3 separate regions of the Homo sapiens genome follow, and regions 1 and 3 are each linked to region 2. The links are contacts of gene promoters, found by promoter capture Hi-C in human tissues and cell types (Jung and others, 2019). All regions are on one chromosome and are shown on one strand. Each heading gives the region's core, a stretch centred on a gene start or on the middle of the fragment in contact. The rest is flanking DNA. Distances are from core to core; before and after follow the strand shown. Region 1 has its middle 37 kb from the start of MIR550A2. Region 2 holds the start of NT5C3A (5'-nucleotidase, cytosolic IIIA). Region 3 has its middle 13 kb from the start of MIR550A2.

Region 1 (2,700 bases), core at 39-2,538, 370 kb after region 2:
GTATACTTTTTTTGCTTTATTTTGTTATTTATTTAGATTTTTAAGTCAAGAATTTAATTCATTTATTTTCACTCTTTCATTTTTATTGATAAAGCTTTTGAGGCCATGAATTTGCTTCTTATCCTTGCTTTAAATGTCTTCCTTAGTTTGCATATGGAAATGGTATTGCCTGCCATGCTGATGCCATCATTCTATTTTTCACCTTTCTGAATCTGTTTGTATTTGTCTTCCCTGTGTAGCATAAGTTGAGTCTGTCTTTGCTTTGTGAGATAATGTGAGAACCTTTGTTGTAAGTTTTATGTGTATTTGACTATATTTGCTTTGTTTCTGTATATGATTCTCTTTTAAACTTTTTGTATTTGAGAAGGTTACTATTATTTCCTCAATTATTGCATATTTGAAACTTTTTTTATAACATCTATACTTGAATGACAGATTGGCTAGATATAAAATCCTTGGTTCTCCCTTTTTTTTTTGAGATGGAGTCTTGCTCTGTCGCCCAGGCTGGAGTTCAGTGGCACGATCTTGGCTCACTGCAGCCATAAAAAATGATGAGTTCATGTCCTTTGTAGGGACATGGATGAAACTGGAAACCATCATTCTCAGCAAACTATCACAAAGACCAAAAACCAAACACGGCATGTTCTCACTCATAGGTGGGAATTGAACAATGAGAACACATGGACGTGGGAAGGGGAACATCACACACCGGGGACTGTTGTGGAGTGAGGGGAGGGGGGAGGGATAGCATTAGGAGATACACCTAATGCTAAATGACGAGTTAATGGGTGCAGCATGCCAACATGGCACATGTATACATATGTAACAGACCTGCACGTTGTGCACATGTACCCTAAAACTTAAAGTATAATAATAATAAAAAGAAAATAAGTCGTTATTACCTAATAAGTTTTAAGGTATATAGTGTCTGCAATTTATAGTTTCACCCTAAAGAAATATTGGTACAAATATACCAAGGAAACCAATTACATGAATCTTCATGGAAGCATTATTTGTACCTGAGAAAAAAAAGCTGAAAACAACTCAAAGGCCCACCAACAGAATGGATAAAATGAATATTTCCATACAAAGTAATATTGTAAATGAGTGAATGTGATCTACAGTCAAAAGTGTCAGCGGGAACCAATGTCAAATAGACTGTTAAAGATAAAAAACTAAGTCATCAAAGGGGATGAGTGTGCATGTCAATATATATGCCATTTACATATGCCCTAAAAACAAACAAGACAACAATATTATAGAAGATATAGTGTGGCAAAACAGCGAAAGCATAGGCATAGTTAATTCAAAACAGGCTGGTGATCACTTCTAGGAAAGAATGCAATACAGGAGAAGCCCTGGGTGCTTCAATGTTAATATTCAATTTCTTGGTGTTAAGTATACAAGTGTTCATTTTATAATTCTTTAAAATATGTGTGTATATATGTATATAATGCTTATATATTTATACTCTTCAAAGTAGGGCTTTGATTCCTCATCAGTGGTTCTTAAACCTCATGTTCTCTTTAGGTAGCTCTGGGTGCTTAAATAAGCACCAAGAATTGTTCTGATGACACGTCTAGCTATTCAAATACATGTTCAAATTGTAGATTTTATTGTTTCCATTTGTGCAATGAATTTTTTTCCTTCCAACTTCTATTTTAGGTTCAGGGGTACATTTGCAGGTTTGTTATATAGGTAAATCACATGTCATGGGGTTTGGTGTACAGATTATTTTGTCACCCAGGTAATAAGCATAGTACCTGATAGGTATTTTCTCAGTCCTCACTCTCCTCCCACCCTCCACCCTCAAGTAGGCCCTGGTGCCTGTTATTCCCTTCTTTTTGTCCATGTGTGCTCAATGTTTAGCTCGTACTTATAAGGAGCACATACAGTATTTGGTTTTCTGTTCTGTGTTAGTTCACTTAGGAAACTGGCCTCCAGCTCCATCTGTGTTGCTACAGAGGACATGATCTCATTCTTTTTATATGGCTGTATAGTATTCCATGGTATATATGTACCATATTTTCTTTATCCATTCCGCCGTTGATGGGCATTTAGGTTGATTCCATGTCTTTGCTATTGTGAATAATGCTGCAATGAACATACGTGTATATGTGTTTTTATGGTAGAACAATTTATATTCCTTTGGGTATATATCCAGTAATGGGATTGCTGGGTTGAATGATAGCTCCATTTTAAATTCTTTGAAAAATCTCCAAACTGCTTTCCACGGTGGCCAAACTGGTTTACATTTCTACCAGCAGTGTATAAGTGTTCTCTTTTCTCCAAAACTTCACCAGCATCTTTTTTTTTTTAAACTTTTTCATCATAGCCATTCTGACTGGTGTGAGATGGCATCTTACTGTGGTTTTGATTTGCATTTCTCTAATGATTAGTGATGGTGAACATTTTTTCATATGCTTGTTGCCTACATGCATGTCTCCTTTTGATAAGTGTCTGTTCACATTTTTTGCCCATTTTTAATGAGGCCGTTTGTTTTTGCTTGTTGGTTTAAGTTCCTTTTAGGTACTGGATATTAGACCTTTGTCAGATGTGTAGTTTGCAGGTGTTTTCCCCCATTCTGTAGGCTGTGTGTTTACTCTGTTGTTAGTTTCTTTTACTGTGCAGAACCTCTTAGTTTTGTTAGATCCCATTTGTCAATTTTTGTTTTTGCTGCAATTGCTTTTGGCATTTTCA
Region 2 (2,700 bases), core at 125-2,624:
ACATTCTTCCCATGTGCAGTTGACGGGCCATATTACAAAAACAAAATTTGGAACTCCATTTCTGTTTTAGATTGTCCACAGCTTCAAGACGAATGTTATCGTCTACAAAATGTTTAAAATCCTGAAATTATAGAAACGTGGCTTTAGTCTCTACCCATTCAAAATAATATGTAATATATGGAAAATGTTTTTGTTGAGGAAGAAAGATAAATGAGACTGTGACCATCTTAGGCCTCACAATCAGACAACATTTAAGTCATATTGGTATTTGGTGCAAAACTGGATTCATAAAAAATTACTTTGGCGACAAAATGACACAGTAGTCTAGATATTGATACTCAAATATTCTGGGTATTAAAACTCAGTCTTCTTCAGGTTATACTCCCAGCTAACTTACTTTGGGACACGTTCTCGGTCTATACTGAGTCTGTGTTCCCAGGCTTAAGTCCTCAAACTTGGCCGAGTAATAAAACTAACCATGATTTCTTTAAGTTTTAGTACCTGTTATTTCACCTTTCGGTCGACAAATCGTTTTTCTCATGTTCCTCTGTCTTACATCAATTTAATTTGTAGACCAGCCAAATGACCTAAAAGGCTAGAAGGAAACAATTTTTCCTCCCCTACAACTATTTCCTCTAGTCCTCCGGCTGAAAGTTGTTCCACGTCCTGGGCAGAGAGAGCCCCACCAGGCAGCACCACCAGCTCCACAGAGTTGGAGCGATTCCCCCAAGAAGCTCCCCTGCGCCCCTCCTCACCCCCAGAGACCAGCAGAAGAAATGGCATCTATCCCTTGGAAGACACTAGGCAGGAGAGAACAACTGCAAGCCCTTCTGCTCACACAGAAAAAAGGATGGCGGAGGTGGCGAATGGGATGTAGCAGAAACCCCGCGGCTGCGGCGGAAGGGACACCGCCCCTCTCCAGCCTAACTCTGAGCCATCTTCCCCCTGTTGTTATAGCACTTAGAACGGACGCCACTGCGCAGGTCACACCGTGCCGCGCAGCCTTCTGGGGGTCGGAGTCCAGAGGGGCTGAGGCGCGAAGGCGGAGACCGACTTCTTAGCGGGCCGCAGTTGGAATTAGATTTCTACTGGGGCGGGGCTCGAGCGAACCACGGCCTAATCCTCATTAGCAGAGAAGGATAATTACCGCAATACTCTGCCCTGCCCTGACAGCAGCTCGTGAGACCCTGAGTCTGCTGAAGGCCGCCTCCAGCCTGGGCTCCGGGCACAGGCCACACCCCTCCCGCCGCGTCCTGGCCTCTCCCATCGATGGCGTGTGGGTGGGGCTTCGTGGGGGCGGAGCTGCGCGGGGCGGGGCGTCGCTGCGCGGGGCGGGGCGTCGCGGGCTCGTCCGTGATGCTCTGGGATCCCGCGCTTCCGAGACTCGCAGTCTACGCGAGCTGCCTGTTTTTTTCCTGCTTGGACGCGCATGAGGGCCCCGTCCATGGACCGCGCGGCCGTGGCGAGGGTGGGCGCGGTAGCGAGCGCCAGCGTGTGCGCCCTGGTGGCGGGGGTGGTGCTGGCTCAGTACATATTCACCTTGAAGAGGAAGACGGGGCGGAAGACCAAGATCATCGAGATGGTGAGTGTGGAGGCTCGGCGCGCCCAGAGCACGCGAGGGGCCGGCTGGGCCGTCCGCTGGCCTCGGCAGCCTGTGCTGGGCCGCTGTTCGGTCGCGACGGGGAGCTGCCGGCGTCGCCTGTCAGGCTGGGATCTCGCTAGCTCGGGACGCGCAGCTTGGGGGACCCGGCCGCCCCGCGTGCGGCCACTCCGCGGGCTTGGTGACCAGGGTTGGGTCCCCGGCTGCGGCCCTTGGCTGCCCGTGGTCTTTGTTAGGTTTCCGTTTGAAGGAACAAGGCAGAAAATAGATGAATCGGACACAGGCTACTTTGTGCTGCAAAACCCGTTTCTCTAGAGATAAGCTGCATGTCCTGGGCAGGTGGCTCCTTCTCTCCCTGCCTTGCTCCCGCCCTCCCCCCGGATCCGCGTCAAACCGTTGCCGCTAATCTAGTTGCAATTCCCGCAGAGGACTAGTTTTATGTTGGGGCTGCCGTGAGTTAGATTATGAAAATGTGCAATATCTAAAATTTTACAAGAATGGCAATCCAGGAGAAATTCAGGATAGTTTATTTTGTATTTGAATGTATTCCTTCTTGTCTCAAAACTCCCACGAAATATCTTTGTTTTCATCTTAACTCCCAAAGCTCTTGTATACATTTTCGAATTTAATTTTTTATTGAAGAGGGTGTCTCAAGAATTCCCTTTGAGATACATTATAAGTAATTGTTTCAAAAATGAGGATATTTAGTTTCGTTTTGTATTTTAATTAGAACCCACTCAGGAAGACAATTCTTGCACAAACTTGCACGCTTATGTATTTCCTGAAATGCATAATCCTGGGTATACGCCTGACCGTGTGCTATACATGTGAACATCTAGGGTCAGATGATTTATGATAGAAAAAAATTTAAAATCTACACTAAATAATATCATTTTAGGGTGTAATACTTGGAATTTCTGAGCACCTGCAATATGTTCCAACTGACGAAAGACACGATTTGTCCTATTGGTTGTACTGACCCCAGGTTGAATACAGATGTATTTGCATAATTAAAATTAGCCAGTGTCCCAGCTATTTGGGAGGCTGAGAGGAAGATCACTGGAGTCTGGGAGTTCAAGGTTATAATCACACCTGTGGAT
Region 3 (2,700 bases), core at 2-2,501, 340 kb after region 2:
AGAAGAGAAATCTCTGTCCTTGTGAAGTTTATATTAGAGTGGGAAGATAAAGACAAAGAAGAAAGACAACTTGATAGAAAAATGGACAAAATGTTTATGAACTGATATTTCCCAGAAGAACACCACATGGTCAATAAACATATGTAAAGTTGACCACCATCATTTGTTATAAAGAAAATATAAATTCAAACCATAGTGAAATACCAACTCACATCTAATAGATTGATAAAGGAGCTTTCGTCCACCACAGGTGGACATATAAATTGGTACAACTATTTTGGTAAACAGTGTATATTATCTGGTAAAGTTGAAGGTATGGATACCTTATAACTCAGCAATTGTAATTTAACATACATATTCCCAAAAAAGTATTGCACATGTGTACTAGGAAGTACATACAATAATATGGTAGCATTATTTGCAATAGCTTCAAACTGGAAAGAACCCAAATATCCATTAACAGAGAAATGAATACATTTTGGTTTATTAACATGGTGGAACAGTATACAATAATGAGAATGAATGAACTATGCAGCTACACACAACATGGTTGAATCTTACAAATATAATTTTGAATGAGTGAATCCAGGTACAAAATTTAAAAAAATGCTGCATTCTTCCATTTGTATGTTGTTTAAAAACAGATTAAAGTAAATCATAGTTTGATATGTGTATAGAAAGAGTTATGTTGATAATCTCAAAAATCAGGTCAGTAGCTGATTCTTATCTTGGAGGCTGGCAAGTGAAGACAGTATAATCATTTCTCTATTTCAATTAATTATATGGTGACTACATGGACGTTCCCTTTACAGTTCTATAATCTAGAAATTTTATGCACTTTTCTATATGCCGTGTAGAAAAATATAAGCTCATTAAAGTACTTTGAGGGAAAAGGATTGCTTTGAGATTGTTTGGGCAGGTTTAAAAATATTCTATTTTTTTAAAAAAAGTTCTGTTTTTGGGCCAGGCGCAGTGGCTCACGCCTGTAATCCCAGCACTTTGGGAGGCCGAGGCGGGCGGATCATGAGGTCAGGAGATCGAGACCATCCTGGCTAACATGGTGAAACCCCGTCTCTACTAAAAATACAAAAAAAAAAAAAAATTAGCCGGGCATGGTGGCAGGCGCCTGTAATCCCAGCTACTCGGGAGGCTGAGGCAGAAGAGTCGGCTTGAACTGGGGAGGCAGAGGTTGCAGTTAGCTGAGATCGCTCCACTGCACTCCAGCCTGCGTGACAGAGCGAGACTCCTTCTCAAACAAACAAAAAAACAAAAAGACAACAACAAAAGAAATGGTTTTTATCTTTCATCTGATTTTTGTATTCGGCATTATTGCTTGTCTGGGACTCAAGTAAAGAATATTTGCAGTAGTTTAGACAGTTCTAAGTTAATGCTACATGAAACTGTTTGAATCTTGTCTTCATTTCTCAATCCCTTAAAGCCAATTTCAAAAATAAGAATTTGCCTTTATTCAGGTTATTCAAAGGATGTGATCTAGACTCTAAAGTGCTAGCCTGTTTCTTAAAAATTACTTTATGCGGTGGGGCGCGGTGGCTCATGCCTGTAATCCCAGCACTTTGGGAGGCCGAGGCGAGTGGATCACGAGGTCAGGAGTTTGAGACCAGCTTGGCCAACATGGTGAATCCCCATCTCTACTAAAAGTAAAAAAATTAGCCGGGCATAGTGGCACACGCTTGTAATCCCAGCTCCTTGGGAACCTGAGGCAGGAGAATATTTGGAACCCAGGAGGTGGAGGTTGCAGTGAGTCGAGATTTCGCCACTGCACTCCAGCCTGTGCGACAGAGCAAGACCCCATCTCAAAAAAAATTTATGTTCACACCTTATGTATTTTATTTAGAAAGTATTTTAGCTATGATAAATTATAAAATTGAGATTAATTTATATGTACACTTTTTACGATTGTACATTCAGGATTTAAGCATCAACCACATGGGTATGGTTTAGTACTATTATGTTTTAAATATGATTTAAACTATGGTTTAAAATTCTGAGGTAATTTTGTGAAAAACTCACTGTATTTTACATGAATTTTGATTGTATACTCTGTTATTATTATTATTTTTTACAGTGGGACTCAACTAGGAGGTCTTATTACAGTACTGTGCTGCTTTTTCAACCATGGAGAGGTTTGTTTTCTAGAAAGCAATTTTTAAGAAATAGAAGGGGTTATAGAGGAACAAAGAAATATACTCATCGAAACAATATATAATTGTATACTACTTATGACTTCACAATATTTTAAAGACCCTTGTGTTATAAGTTGATATTTTAATCATGCTGATCAAAATGTTTAAATAGCTAGAATTTCAAACATGAAATCTCTTGCCTTATTTTTAGTAAATATATACATATACATATATTCTGTAGAGAAAAGGAAATACTGTACTTGTTGAGTTGAATCACGTCATGCACATTATCTGATTTATTCCCACTAAACTTTTTTTGTGGGTGGTGGTAGCCTCACCATACAAGTTATGAAATTTAAATTTAGAGAAAATTAAGTTACTTATCCACATTCCACATTTACTACATGATGAAGCTGGATTTCCCATTCTATGTCTGGTCTGCCATTTAAAACCTCACATATATATTAATTTATATTTTATTAATTATAAAATTATAGTTATATTTTATAAAAACTTTTATATATTTTATATGTATAACATATATATTCAACTTTTT

What was found. Contacts are between HindIII fragments. The study calls those that stand out against the background at their distance.
Region 1: a fragment that was not itself captured here is called in contact with the fragment with the promoter of NT5C3A in region 2 in 1 of the 25 tissues and cell types used here (lymphoblastoid cells).
Region 3: a contact is called between a fragment that was not itself captured here and the fragment with the promoter of NT5C3A in region 2, in 1 of the 25 tissues and cell types used here (H1 embryonic stem cells).

Annotation. Positions count from the first base shown.
Region 1 is chr7:32,694,149-32,696,848 of GRCh38, reverse strand. It overlaps the pseudogene DPY19L1P1. Among named protein-coding and RNA genes, the nearest start is that of MIR550A2, 37 kb to the left of the region's middle. The HindIII fragment of the contact is 7,417 bases long and covers 1-2,700 here.
Region 2 is chr7:33,061,450-33,064,149 of GRCh38, reverse strand. NT5C3A (5'-nucleotidase, cytosolic IIIA) reads left to right here and starts at 1,374. Exons shown (of 9, transcript NM_001002010.5): 1 at 1,374-1,582. The coding sequence starts at 1,445. LOC124901610 (a long non-coding RNA gene) reads right to left here and starts at 965. Exons shown (of 4, transcript XR_007060279.1): 1 at 502-965; 2 at 3-121. RefSeq lists an enhancer at 860-1,019 and silencers at 1,260-1,379, 1,680-1,739. The HindIII fragment of the contact is 10,077 bases long and covers 1-2,700 here.
Region 3 is chr7:32,718,580-32,721,279 of GRCh38, reverse strand. It overlaps the pseudogene DPY19L1P1. Among named protein-coding and RNA genes, the nearest start is that of MIR550A2, 13 kb to the left of the region's middle. The HindIII fragment of the contact is 4,185 bases long and covers 1-2,700 here.